5 separate regions of the Homo sapiens genome follow, and all the other regions are linked to region 2. Evidence: promoter capture Hi-C in 16 types of primary human blood cells and fetal thymus (Javierre and others, 2016). All regions are on one chromosome and are shown on one strand. Each heading gives the region's core, a stretch centred on a gene start or on the middle of the fragment in contact. The rest is flanking DNA. Distances are from core to core; before and after follow the strand shown.

Region 1 (2,700 bases), core at 124-2,623, 1.3 Mb before region 2:
TTGAAGGAATAATGTTAAAAACAACATTAATGACATTTATAGAACACTTAACTATAAGCTGCCATTTCATTTAACCCTATTATTAGCCCTGCTTTACACGTGACGGAATCGAAGCACAAAGAGACTCAATAACGTGCGTAGGCTCACACAGCTGGTGCATATTGGAACCAGGCAGGAAGACTTCAGAGTCCAGGTTCTCAACTACCCAATTAAGAAATTCTGCTCTTTCTTAACTGTGTTATGACAAAAACATTTTTACTGCTAATTTAAAATATATACTCCGTGTAAATATTTATGTAATGTAAACATAGCACACATTATAAAACTATAATATTATCTTTTATCAAAAAAAGATTGCGTTCTATATGCCCATTTTACCCCGGGAAAAAGGTCTTTATTTTCCTTTGAAATGAGGAGTAGCATTTGATTTTGCCAGGGAACTTAAAATTATTTCAAGGTCCCAGTCGTACGTGGCATGGAGATTTATGACAAATATGTAATCTGTTTATTTGTCACCCAACTTGGATGACTTCTAAATGTTTCTTCTTTGTAGCTCTTGATTTTGCTTGGGTTTCCCCCGACCCATGCCCAAATAGTAAAAAACAAAACAAAACCAAAAAACAATGTCTGAGTCATGTTTGCTCCAGTCAGGGAATACCAACGTGCTGACAGACAGCTCTGGTTTTTAAAAAATCTTACTGTATGTCACTTGCAACTTTGAAGAACATTCATGCGTTAGTGGACTGCATTTGGAAGAAAACAAAAAGGAGAAAAAAACCCCCACCAAGTTGTGGCTCAAGTCCCTCTGCCATTTGCTGCAGTGAGTTTTCCTATTCCATTTTGCTGGGGAGAAGGCATGCTTTACAGAACACATCAAACTGTCCGAAAAAGGCTGTCTGCATCCCTCATGTTTATAAGAGAAGGATTTCTTTCCCCTTCCTTCACGTATCAAAGAAGTCACTCGGGGAGGAAATAAACCATAATTAGGCATGAGCGAGCGAGCAGACAGACCCCTTGCTCTGCCTTCCCTGTCCCCGCCCACCAGGCAACCGTCCTGGGCGCAACCGAGGAGCGGGTTGTCTCCGCAGCAGCTGCAGCGAGCGCGCGCCCACGCCCGAGCCCGCGCCCGCCGCCAGGATCTGGGCGGCGGCGAGGCTAGCCCGGGGGCGCGCTCGCTCGGGAGCGCGCTCATGCAGCGGTTTTCTTCTCCCACAATCCAGAGGCAGCTGCACGGGAGGGGCGGGGAGTCGGCGGAAGGATATCGGCGCGGAGGGAGCAGCGCGCTCCCTTTGACGGCGGCCCCCGGCATTGGCGGGCGGCGCTGGCGGGCGGCGAGGGGTGGGGTGTGATGCGGCACTGCGGTTCTGAGGCCGTTACTCCGGCTTCTCCATAGAGGGCGGAGAAGGCTGGAGCGCGGCGGTGATTTTGTGCCAGGGATTCCCAGAGACGCGCTGAAAGGCTGGCAGGGCTTAGGAAGCTGGGGGGTTAGGGACACACATTCAAGCCCCCACCCCCGGGAGGGGAAGGGGGCTGGAGGCGAGGCTTGAGGGCGGCGGAGGAATGGTGTCTGCTCGGGGGGAAGGGGCGAGCCCTGCCTGTTGGTACTGAGGGGCTGCGGGCAGTGGAGGCTCCGCGGGTCGAAAGCGGCTCCATGCCCATCGGTGGGTGGAACGTGTAGAGGTCGGAACGCCGAGGTCGAGTCTGGTGGCGCCTCGGTATCCTTAACGTGGTCTCTGTTTAACGTATTTCATTTAGCCCCCGTTGGGATTGATTCATTGGGAGCAGTTTCGCTGGTCTGGATCCTCCAGGAGCTGGACAACCTTGACGGGCTTTTTGTCTTGGGTTCCAGCCCCCTTTCCCTTCCTCCTCCTCCAGATGCCTTTTCTCTGCCCCTCCTCGCCCGGTACAGACATTTCCAGCGCAGGCTGCTGCTCGTGGTGTCCGTCGTCGAAGCCACTTCTTGGGATTTCGGCTCGTTTCACTCTGGGGTGTTTTTTGAGGAGGGAGAGTGCCCCCCTCCTCCACGATGGGATTTTTCTCCCTTGCCGAAATGGACTTTCATTGATTTCTACTTACTTCCACGTTTAGTGACCAATTCCCTAGGCGTATTTTTGTGGTAGTTCCTTTTTTCAAATACATACTCTGTAAAATGGAGAACGAAATTTTTACTCCCCTTCTGGAGCAGTTCATGACCAGCCCTTTGGTCACTTGGGTAAGTGGGGTGTCCTTTATTGTATATTTTGCTGAGTTATTTGTGGCTGCAGAGATGGAGGTGGGCGTTCATGTCGTGGTGATCCTTCTGTTTGTTCTAGGTTAAAACGTTTGGACCTCTGGCCGCAGGAAATGGGACCAACCTTGATGAATATGTGGCTTTGGTGGATGGGGTATTCTTGAACCAGGTCATGCTCCAAATGTAAGTTCTTCCTTCTTTCCTAGGTAACGTTTTCTTTGAGAAATAGCATATGGTGAACTTTGAGACACGATGTTTTAAGCCCCTAATTTGGTTCATTGGCCAGAAATATTCAGGTGGTTTAAGAATTGGATCTTGAAAGGAATGCTAATGTTATGGGCTCAGCCCATTATCACAACCTAGATATTTTACCTGTTAAAATTGTGAAACTTTAGTTTTTCATTCTGTCAACCATGTATTGTCACTTGTCTTCAGTACTGAAATCCAAGCCACATTGTGTATTCTTTGAT
Region 2 (2,700 bases), core at 155-2,654:
GTAGTTCACCTCTATTCCTCTGGTCACCTGCTCCATCCTGAGTCACCCCTGGTCACCTGCTCTGACCTGAATCATCCTGAGTCACCTGTTCTGTAACCACCCTTCCTGCCAAATTATTCACCCCGCCACTTGAGCTCGTACGCCTGCTCTTTAAAATAGCCAGTCGGAATTAGCTTAGACTGTGCGGTCCAACCCTAGCCAGTAGGGGAAAGACACAGCAGTAGAGGCTACCTGCATCAGGAATAAGAACCCCTTCCCCTCCCCTGTTCAGGTGTGCCGTTGCCATTGCTTCATCCGCGAGTCGCACCCTTCTATAGAGGTAAAATTGCCTTGCTGAGAAAATTCTTTGAGCGCTAGTTCTTCTTTTTGGCACCAAAGAACCAGCATTTGTTTCTAAGAGAGCCTTATTGTCAAAGGAAATTAAGAAAAAGCATTACACTTATTCATACATGTGCATATATGTACATATACATATTGCAGAAAAGTATGATAGGGTGAGCAAAAAAAAAAAAAAAACCCTCAAGCAAAACAATGGGGTAATTCGGTGGGAAAAGTGAAATGAAAATCAAATTCAAAGAGGAAAAGAAATGAGTAAAATTTCCCATTGTTGAAGAGTTTTATTTTAAATGAAGATGGTGGATGTTAAATCACTACCCTATTTATATTCCATTGCATAAATCTCAGAGTGACTTAATATTTTCATTTATAAATATCAATATTTTCAACAAGCCAGACATTACAAACTTGGCAACTACTTAAACTTAGGATGAAACAAAAATTAGATAACAATTTCATTCTTTTAAGAGCTACAAAGAGGTCTAAAAAAAGGTTTGACCTCTGAAAAATTAACCTTAAACCATCTAAGTGTCCTTCCTAAAACTCAAGTCAAGCCCAGGTAGCTTCAGTGGCAAGCAACGAGACCACTAGTTAAAAGACCCTCTTCTTTTCCTACCCAACTTCAACATTCCCCCGTGCCGCTTACTCCCGCACCCAGCAGCCGCCCACTTCTGGTCCTCAGCAGTCCCCTGACCCCTCCTCTCCCGCTCCCCCACTTCCCTCCCCATTCCCGTACTTCCGCCCGTCCAAGTCCTCGGGCGCATGCGCGTTTCGCCTCCCTCCCCGCCGCCGCTGCTGTGTCATGGCGGAGCGGAAGTCCCAGCCACAACGGGAAAAGGCATACTTTAGGTGGGAGGCGCTTCTCACAGCTTTCTCCCCTTCCTCCCATAACCTTTTTGATCTCCCACCGTAGAGGGGCCTCCTACCCTGCACTCTTCCGAACACCTCGTAGTCCACGGATTTGAGTGACTGGGCGGTAGACATGGCGGCGGCGAGCCCTCTGTTGAGGAGCCGGAGAGGGGCTCGGGGCGCAGCGACTGCGGCGGCTGCGAGAGGGAGGGGACACATGGGACTGCTTGGCGCACCCCGCGCCTGTCACCGGTCCCGGACGCTAGCGCGCCGGGGTCACGCGTCGGAAGCGGCAAATGAGACTGCGGGGCCTGGGAGCGAGGGCAGCCGGGGACGCCAGGAGGGAAGAGGCCGCTGGGCCCCAGGCATCCTAGGCCTCTCTTCCCGGACTGGGGAGGATGCTGTCTCCACAGCGCTCCCTACCATTTAATTGATCAAGGTACTCTGTTCTCAAAGTTAGTAAATAAAAGCCGGATGCTGTGCCCAAAAAAAGAGTGGCTTCCCCCAGCTTTATTAAAGTGTAATTGACAAATAAAAGTTGGGTATATTTGTGGTGTACAAGGTGATGTTTTGACATATGTATGCATTGTGAAATGATTACATCAATGAAATTAACGTATCCATTGCACCATTTTTTAATGAAGAGAACATTTAAGATCTACTCTCATCAATTTTTAAGGACACAATACATTTATCGCAGTCACCATGTTAGACAACAGATCTTCAGAACTTATTATTCACACTAACTGAAACTTTGTACCCTTTGACCAATATCTCCCCATTTCCAACCCCTTTCATCCCCCATCCCAGGTCCCCCACCCCACTCCATCCCAGCAAGATTGGCTTTTGAAATCAAGGGCCTGCGTGTTTAGTGTTTTGAGAGTTAGTAAATTATTTATGAAATGTTTAGGTGACTACCAAGCCAGCTTTTAAGATAAGGTCTGCAACATCTTGAGCTCTTCTGTACAGTCAGGAAGGAATTGAGCCTGAACTCGTATTCTAAACGGATTGTGATATTTTCTGGGATAAGAAACTTTTTAAAAATATGAAGTCTTTTATGCTAGTGGAAACAGACAAAAGAAAAACACTGTAGTCATCTTGTCTGCTGTTCATACAGTTTTTTTGGTGTGGGTTTGTTGCTGTTGTTTTGAGACGGAGTTTCGCTCTTGTCTCCCAGACTGGAGTGCAGTAGTGCAATCTCAGCTCACAGCAGCCTCCACCTCCCAGGTTCAAGAAATTGTCCTGCCTCAGCCTTCCAAGTAGCTGGGATTACAGGCATGCGCCACCTCACCCAGCTAATTTTTGTATTTTTAGTGGAGACGGGGTTTCACCATGTTGTCCAGGCTAGTCTCAAACTCCTGACCTCAGGTGATCCACCTGCCTCGGCCTCCCAAAGTGCTGGGATTACAGGTGTGAGCCACCACACCCGACCTTTTTTTTTTTTTTTTTTTTTGATTGTCTTGATTATTCTCAGCAACATCCCAATTGCCTAGAAGGTTAAGGCTGAATTTTATT
Region 3 (2,700 bases), core at 87-2,586, 1.2 Mb before region 2:
TGCCCCTGTAATCTCAGCTACGCGGGAGGCTGAGGCGGGAGAATCACTTGAACCCAGGAAGCGGAGTTTGGTTGCAATGAGCCGAGATCGCGCCATTGTGCTCCAGCTTGGGCGACAGAGTGACACTGTCTCAAAAAAAACAAAAAACAGTCTGGGAGAGGTGGCTAACGCCTGTCATCCCAGCACTTTGGGAGGCCGATGTGGGCGGATCATCTGAAATAGGGAATTCGAGACCAGCCTGACCAACATGGAAAAACCCTGTCTCTACAAGAAACACAAAATTAGCCAGGAGTGGTGGCACATGCCTGTAATCCCAGCTACTCGGGAGGCTGAGGCAGGAGAATCGCTTGAACCCGGGAGGCAGAGGTTGCGGTGAGCTGAGATCGTGCCATTGCACTCCGGCCTGGGCAACAAGAGCGAAACTCCATCTCAAAAACAAATAGAAACAAAAACACAACAAAAACCTTATTACAATCCTGTGAACTAGCTACTGTCATTACTATAATGTAGATGAACAAACTGGGACATGGACAGTTGACAAAACATTCCCAACCACACACTAGGAATGAGCTGGGATAGGAAACCAGGCACTCTGGCTCTATTACTCCTAATGCCATACACACGAGCTGACTTAGGAGAAAACAGAAAGTACTGTTCGCACAATACTAACTGGTTCTACCGCCACTGTTCGCTTGCATTTGTTTTTTCCTTCTTGTTAGGAACACGTATCTTTGAAGGAGGTATCATTTCTCCCACAATTCTCCATTTAACGTTTCCTACAGTGTTAAGCACCACCGAGGCCTCTCATAGCCCCAGAGAAGAAGTAATTTGCTTCCTAGAAATCCTCACTGTATCCAGATTCCCTCCCAGAGGAGCCATCAGTTCTCATGGGTGGCACTTTTTCTCCAGCTGATTACACTTTTTTTCTGTACCAGTTAATTTTTCCAACTTCTAATTGAATAAAGGCAGTTTTCTTAAAAAAAAAAAAAAGAGAAAGAAAAACGGAAAGGAAGGAAGAGGAAAGGAAGGAAGAAATGAAGAAAGGAAGGAAGGAAAGAAAGGAGAGGGACAGAAAGAAAAAAAGGAAAGAGAGAAAGAAAGGAAAGGAAAGTAAGAAATGGAAGGGACCTGCAGAAACGATTCACCACGCGCGGCTGACCCTGGGAGGAGCCACAGGTTGAACCAGCGCCTCCCAGGCTGGACGCCCGCCGCGGACACCGCAGACAGTCCCACCCCCAGCGGCGACAGCAACTCTCTGAATTCCGGAAAGAACCTTTTCCAGCGGGACCGGAAGCCCGGCGGGGACCGTAGCGGGGACGGACTGACCTACCGACCATTCTTCCGGGTCCAGAAGGTGATCTCCGCCCGTGCTCAGAATCCAGGGGCCCGGGGCTGTAGGTAGGAGTTAAGTGGGTAGGATCCCTTAACCAGGGTTGTCCGGTGCAGGTGGTGTGTGTTGTTTCGCCTAACGTGTCAGTGGCACAAATCACGCGAACTTCATAAACATTGTGCGTTCGGAAGCCTTTCCAAGATGCATTTAATCCCTGCGTGAGCCCACGTTAGGCATTCACGAAGGCATGTGCACTGTTCTCTCGGAAGCGGCTGGCCGGCTTCCCCTCCTCGCGCGCGGCTGTGGGTGCAGGTCCTCACTTCCCAGCCTCCCATGGGCCCAAGGCCTTCTGGGCTCCAATTTGAGGCGAGCCACCCCAGATCCGTAATTTTTCTGCAGTGATTTATTTTTACCTTTCTGGTAAGTTCCAAAGCTTCCAGCTCACATTCAGACGTTTTCCCTAACGCAACTACGTATTTGCAACATACTTTTTTCAGATTCCTTGACAAGGATATCCTAGCGGCGAAACAACACCGTACTGGGAGTCAGAACGTCTGGGTTCTAGTCTTGACTGCCATTAACTAGCGGTATGACATTGGAGAAGCTTTTTTGACCCTTCTGGATTTCCGTTTCCTTTTCTGTAAAATGAGGAGCTTGGAGTAAGTGACAAGTTTCCTTCCAGTTTTGACATTTGGGTTATTGCCTCCAATGTGTCTTTCCAGTTCCTGCCTCAATTACATATCTGTGCTTTGGTTAATATCTCGTAGGGTCCTTCCTCCCACTCCATTAATCTGTGCTCTTCTCAAATCTGGTTTCATACTGATTTAAAAATTATTTTCTCAAGGAATCCTGTGTTACCTGAGCACTCTACTTCTTGGTCCAGGGGCACAAACGTAAATAAGATATTTTCCATGTGCCATTCTTAGAAGTATTTAATGTGTGTAAATACTATTGAATGAATTTCCAAATCTTCTTTTTTTTTTCTTTAGACAGAGTCTCACTGTCGCCCAGGCTGGAGTGCAGTGGCCTGATCTCGGCTCACTGCAGTCTCTGCCTCCTGGGTTCAAGCGATTCTCCTGCCTCAGCCTCCCAAGTCGCTGGGATTACAGGCGCCCGCCACCGTACCCGGCTAATTTTTGTACTTTTAGTAGAGAGGGGGTTTCACCATGTTGGCCAGGCTGGTCTCGAACTCCTGACCTCAGGTGATCCGCCCGCCTCGACCTCCCAAAGTGCTAGGATTACAGGCATGAGCCATCACGCCCAGCCTGAATTTCTAAATCTTAATGTGTTTATTTCGTTGGCATTAAGTTAGATTTTTCCTTGATCTTTACTCGAATAAGCCTTTTAAGGTAAAATGCTTGCTCGATTAC
Region 4 (2,831 bases), core at 332-2,831, 1.4 Mb before region 2:
ATATGTATAAAACAATGCAGTGAGCCAAGATCACGCCACTGCACTCCAGCCTGGGCAACAGAGCGACACTCTGTCTCCCAAAAAAAAAAAAAAAAAAGGAGTACAAATACAAGTTATTTTGTTTTTGAACATTGTTAAAAAATTACCTGTAAAAATAACACTTTAATAACTACGATTTGAATATTGATTATAGCAATGAAAATGTAATGAAAAGATTCAGTGGTCAAACTGAATTTCATCTTTACCAGATTCATGATATCTTGGAATTTAAAGAAGTCTTAAAAGGTCATCCAGGATAACCGACCATTTGATAGCTGAATAGCTGAATCCCTCTAACCCTATTAAGTCGCTATCAGATCCATTCAAACACTGCTGGAGCCGGGAAGCTCATTACCTTCTGAGGCTGGCTAACTCATCTTGGATACATTCTATCATGAAACACTTCCTTCACTGAAATTTGTTTCCCTGTAGCTTGTACCAACTGACCCTAGCTCTATTCTACTCAACCTTACAACACAAAGCAGATGTTCAAATAATTGATGAATACTACTACCCTCAAAGTCTTGCCCGATTAAACAACCACAATAACGCTTGGGCACTCATTTATATGACGTGGTTTCTGGTTCCTTTTCTGCGAATGGGCTGCAAATAGTCTCCACGAACTGAATGCAGAACTCCAAGCCTGAAGAACTGCTCAGAACCCGGAGATGCCTGTCCTTCACGGGGAATATTATGCCATATCTATACGCCTCATTTGTTCCAAGAATGGTCCTGCCCCACCTCGCCAATTTTTGGTATAGCGAAGAGTAGAGAGCTCACCAAGGGGAACACAGGCCACCAAAATCACCGGCTCTGGGCTTCCTGGAGTTATCACATGCCCTCCTTTGCAGTTAACTGTTGGTTTGGAGTGAAATCATTTCTCATTTCCTAAGCTGACTACACCGGGCGAAATGCTAGGGATCATAAGGAACTCAGGTAAACCGACGCTTCTCCTCTCAAGTCTGGCAAAGCTGTTGAAGAAGCCCAGCCAAACAGTCCACCTGCCGAGGGCAGAAACGTTCGGGACAGGGTGAGAGACCGAATTTACGATTCAAGTCTAATGTTCTTCGGACGTGCGCTTCGGCCCCAGAGAAGGGGAGTCTCGGTCCCCGTTTTCAGGTCTGCGAAGGAACACATTGGCAGGGTGAAAGGAATTCCTCCCACACAACCAGCTCTAAACCTGATGACGCGGGTGGAGAAGGTGGTGAGGGGAACGAGACCTTGCGACAGGGGTGGAGACAGGGGGTCGGGGAGACGAGAGATGGCTTGTGGTTACCAACCCCCTGCCCGCCGCTGGTGTGAGAGAGGAGAAAAGGATTGTCGGTTCGGGCTCTGGTTTTTACCTTCACATTTCTGTTCCACAAAGTCCAAGATGGGGATGGACCAGTCTGGGCCTCGCAGGAACCCCGCGATGCTCTCCACTACCCACTCCACCTCGTCTTCTTCTTCCGCAGCCATCCCGCCCCAAAGGGGCAACGGGGAAGATCCCTAGGCCAGACCGCCGGACCCCGGTTAGGCCTTTGGGCCACAAGGAGCCGAGAGGGAGTAGGGGAAGAGCTGGCCCGCAGTCGCTCAGCCCCCAGGATAGAAGCTACCAACCAGTTAATGCAAAATGGTCGCTATGGCAACACACGTAGCCGCCCTAGACCGCGGCCCGGAAGTGAAGACAACTTTCCAGGAGCCTGCGCACTTAGCGGGGAGGGCAAACGTTTGAAAAACGTTTCTGATTGGTTAAAAAAGAACAGTGGACGAGGGCTGAGAAAAGAAGTGTAGCTATTGGCTGGAAGTCATAGACAGATTGCGCTCTCTCTTCTGATAAATGCGTAGGAGCCAAGGTTTAGAAAACGCGCAGTAGACGGGCGCGGTGGCTCACGCCTGTAATTCCAGCACTTTGGGAGGCCGAGGCTTGCGGATCACCTGAGGTCAGGAGGTCGAGACCAGCTTGGCCAACATGGTGAAACCTCGTCTCTACCAAAAATACAAAAATTAGCCTGGCGTGGTGGCGCCGCCTGTAATCCCAGGTACTCGGGAGGCTGAGGCAGGAGAATCGCTTGAACCCGGGAAGCCGAGGTTGCAGTGAGCCACTGCACTGCAGCCTGGGAGACTGCGTCTCAAAAGAAAAACAGGAAGAAAGAAAAGAAAAAAGAAAAGGCTCAGTGAGGGTCTGAGGTAACCGGGTCTCCACCTGACAGGGCTTCAGCGGCTGCAGTTCATCATTGTATCCCCAGCACCTCAGTCCCAACCATTTTCAGACCATTGGCCCAGAGGCGTTTGTAATTAAAGGGTTGTCTGAAAATACAAAGCCGAGCTGTGTGAGACTCGCTGATTGTCTTACGGTCAGTTTGCATCTGTATCTTCAGGCGGGTCTTTAATCTCTTACGCTTGGATAAAGATAACTAGAATTAGGAGCTTTTCAAGGGCAAGAGCAAAGTTAATACTCACTTAAATAAATGCCTTGGTAACCAAATCTTATTATAACTCCAACTCAGCATTTAGGTGGAGTCCATTGTGGAATGGGGTCTTCAGTGGTCATTGTGAAGGTGTTTGGAGTCCCAAAATATCTTCAGACAACCATATATATATATATATTTTTTACATAAATAGGATTATATGTACAGTTATGAATTTTTTTCTTATATCTTTATCTTTTAAAAATATAAATTTGTGCTTTCTTTGCAACTGCATAGTATTCCATAAACCATCCTTTAGTCTATTTTTATTTTGTGAATGTGCACACAGTATCTTACCTGAATGCATGAAGATGATCATTATGTGCCTTTTTTTTTTTTTTT
Region 5 (2,700 bases), core at 192-2,691, 1.1 Mb before region 2:
TCACTTGAACCCGGGAGGCGGAGGCTGCAGTAAGCCGGGACAAGCGAATGCACTCCAGCCTGGGCGACAGAGGAGACTCCATCTCACACAAAATAAATAAATAAGTGTCCAAATTCACGCAAGTGAAATACACCTCAAGGATTCCAATCTAGGTACTGTGCTCCCCGATCACCAATGTCTATTGTGTTATTCCACAAGTATTTCGCTTTGTCAATCTGACCCCTTCCCCCATCACCAAGAGCAGGTATGTCTAGCACCTACAGGTAGGCCGAAGTCTCCGCAGGTTAAGTTTTCTTAACTACAAAATACTACTTGCCTTCCTTATCCTGGATCTTGGCCTTTACATTTTCTATCGTATCCGAGGGTTCAACCTATGAGTGTTAAAGTGAAAGCATGTTGGTTACACATTAAGGAACTACAGCAGAACTCATTTAGTTTGACAATTACCACTGAACCGAACCAGCGACAGGGCTGAGACCTACTCGAGAGACCTATTACCCACCCAGTGGGCAACCTCCCAAGTCGGCTACCGGAAAGCACCTTCATCTCCCCAGCCCAGAGCGGGCGGCGGCCGCAGGGCCACACGTGCTCGCACCCGGCGGGCAGAGCGTCTCCTTCCCCACCGCAGCTCCTCCGTTTTAACTAACTAGCTGGAACCCCTCGAGAGGAGACAGGTCCAGCCTTTGGCCACCGAAAATCACCTCTAGGTCGTTGCTCAGCAAAAGGTACTCATTTCAAAGCTTAAGTTTTAGAACCCAAATTCGGAATCATGGTCTAAGACATGGAAAGCAGCGCCGGTCCTAAAATCCACCTCAGGACCTTATTCGGACCTTGGCTTCCTCATGACCACCCGGCCCGTACCTCGAGGGTGATGGTCTTCCCCGTAAGGGTTTTCACGAAAATCTGCATTTTGGTGGCGGCTCCACCTGAGGTTGAGGAAAAGGAAGAGACAGGTTAGGTCAGGGATCACAAGAGAAGGCACCATAGGGTGCTAACCCGAGAGCAGCCGAAGTGCAGACACCCACCGCAGATGGCGGATCGAAAAGGAAGAACGCCGCGCAGGCCCACGGGGTTTCCCGGAGCTCCCGCCGAAGGACCCACCCCTTAGGCGACCACACCAAATGCCTGACTGCCGTCCCAGCGACAATCCAACCCGGTGCCAGACTAGGACGTGAACTTCGTTTCTCCTCTCCCTAGCCTGGGCTTATTTCTCACTTTAGCCTTCGGAATGCTTTCGAAACTGTAGGTTTAAGCAACGTAAAAGATGTTTTAAAAAGGCTTTTCCCGTACAATCAACGTGGCTAAGAGAATTTTTAAAAGGAGGTCGAGGGGGGCCTCTTGGGGAAGAGGTAGGAAATGGAAGTGCATTCTGGGAACTGTAGTTCTCCACTGCTTTCTTCTACCTTGGACTACTTGTCCCAAGATGCAGTTCCACCTCCCAGATTCCCTAGTTACTATCTCTAAGCACTGAAGTCGGTGTTTGGAGAAAAGGACTCAGGTGAGGACTGGAGGTAGGATGAAGCGGAATAATGGTTTCCGGAGCGTGGGAACGGGCCGGAAGTGACTAGAGCAAATGTTAAGCGGGGGGCAAAGGGTGCGGGGCACGAAAGGTGTCCTTCACTCACTTCCAGAAGCGGTGATGGGCAGAGAATCAGCAATCTACCAGACGCTCCTTGGGCCTTCAAGGGAAGGGAATTTGCGTGGCCTGCTCCAGGCAAACTGAAAAATAGGTGAAATCTGCGGAAGCGGGGGTTCAGCCCTTTCTCTCCTGTAGCGCCTCCCTGCTTTCAACCGCCGAGTCTCTCCCAGCCTAGGGAAGAGTCTGGGTCTTGTGTGTCACTCCTTAGTGTGACACGCTTTAATATGTTGAAAAATCTCAGGAGTTTTCAAATTTTAAAGTGAAGCCGTACGGAAAAGAAACCTGCAGAATGGTTATTTAGTTGTAGAATTTCCAAATTTGGGCATTGGGAGTCTTGGATCTGAGAGGAAGTTTTTGGAGTATGTATGGGGTGCTTCTTCCGGCAAGGAGGCCAATTAGAAGCAAGTTCTCCCTGTCCTTTCTCCACTCCACAAACCAGAGTCCTTTCTAATGTCTTCTGTATTTATTTCTTCATCCTCTGCCCTCTGCGACCCCATCCCCAAATTCAGACCTTAATTTTCTCTTGTAGGGGTTCCGAATCTAACTCCTTATCTCTCTCCAGTCTTTCCTCCTTTCTAACCCACCTTCACTATTGCCTCCAAAATATTCATTCTGAAAGGTAAATGTGTGTTATTATTTTATACCTCACCTTCAGGATACAATTCAAATTTCTTAGAATGACATTCAGCCTCTGCCTTCCTTACAACCTAATCTGCTAAACCCATTACTCTACATTTTAGTAAATGAAGCTAATTTAATTTCCTGACCTATGCCCTCCCGTGTTTTGGCATTTCTGAAGAATCCAGTCGTTTATTCTTCCTGGAACTTTTTTTTTTTTTTTTCGTGAGACGGAATTTCGCTCTGTTGCCCAGGCTGGAGTGCAGTGGCGCGGTCTCGGCTCACTGTAAACTCCGCCTCCCAGGTTCAAGCAATTCTTCTGCCTCAGCCTCCCGAGTAGCTGGGATTACAGGCGCCCACCACCACACCCGGCTAATTTTTGTATTTTTAGTAGAGATGGGGTTTCACCATGTTGGCCAGGCTGTTCTCTAGCTCCTGACCTC

What was found. The method cuts DNA at HindIII sites, captures the fragments that hold promoters and counts their contacts. A CHiCAGO score of 5 or more calls a contact.
Region 1: the fragment with the promoter of CCDC88A here is called in contact with the fragment with the promoter of ACYP2 in region 2 in 1 of 17 cell types (monocytes); the score reaches 5.6 in monocytes.
Region 3: the fragment with the promoter of MTIF2 here is called in contact with the fragment with the promoter of ACYP2 in region 2 in 8 of 17 cell types (total CD4 T cells, fetal thymus, total B cells and 5 more); the score reaches 10.2 in total CD4 T cells.
Region 4: a contact is called between the fragment with the promoter of CFAP36 here and the fragment with the promoter of ACYP2 in region 2, in 8 of 17 cell types (fetal thymus, neutrophils, monocytes and 5 more). The highest score is 9.4, in fetal thymus.
Region 5: a contact is called between the fragment with the promoter of CLHC1 here and the fragment with the promoter of ACYP2 in region 2, in 16 of 17 cell types (fetal thymus, total CD4 T cells, total B cells and 13 more). The highest score is 33.3, in fetal thymus.

Annotation. Positions count from the first base shown.
Region 1 is chr2:55,418,529-55,421,228 of GRCh38, reverse strand. It overlaps CCDC88A (coiled-coil domain containing 88A), which reads left to right and starts at 1,373. Exons shown (of 33, transcript NM_001365480.1): 1 at 1,373-2,212; 2 at 2,313-2,413. The coding sequence starts at 2,150. RefSeq lists silencers at 973-1,262, 1,323-1,372, 1,403-1,472. The HindIII fragment of the contact is 14,096 bases long and covers 1-2,700 here.
Region 2 is chr2:54,114,319-54,117,018 of GRCh38, reverse strand. ACYP2 (acylphosphatase 2) reads right to left here and starts at 1,404. Exons shown (of 4, transcript NM_138448.4): 1 at 1,263-1,404. The coding sequence starts at 1,320. RefSeq lists silencers at 956-1,015, 1,506-1,575. The HindIII fragment of the contact is 9,756 bases long and covers 1-2,700 here.
Region 3 is chr2:55,267,867-55,270,566 of GRCh38, reverse strand. It overlaps MTIF2 (mitochondrial translational initiation factor 2), which reads left to right and starts at 1,336. Exons shown (of 16, transcript NM_002453.3): 1 at 1,336-1,398; 2 at 1,828-1,989. RefSeq lists enhancers at 475-1,298, 1,244-1,393. The HindIII fragment of the contact is 1,895 bases long and covers 1-1,765 here.
Region 4 is chr2:55,518,468-55,521,298 of GRCh38, reverse strand. It overlaps CFAP36 (cilia and flagella associated protein 36), which reads right to left and starts at 1,581. Exons shown (of 10, transcript NM_080667.7): 1 at 1,383-1,581. The coding sequence starts at 1,497. RefSeq lists enhancers at 801-1,050, 2,231-2,280. The HindIII fragment of the contact is 7,670 bases long and covers 1-2,831 here.
Region 5 is chr2:55,231,034-55,233,733 of GRCh38, reverse strand. It overlaps CLHC1 (clathrin heavy chain linker domain containing 1), which reads left to right and starts at 1,441. Exons shown (of 13, transcript NM_152385.4): 1 at 1,441-1,511. It overlaps RPS27A (ribosomal protein S27a), which reads right to left and starts at 1,046. Exons shown (of 6, transcript NM_002954.6): 1 at 1,026-1,046; 2 at 862-926; 3 at 317-371. The coding sequence starts at 909. RefSeq lists enhancers at 767-946, 967-1,396. The HindIII fragment of the contact is 5,653 bases long and covers 743-2,700 here.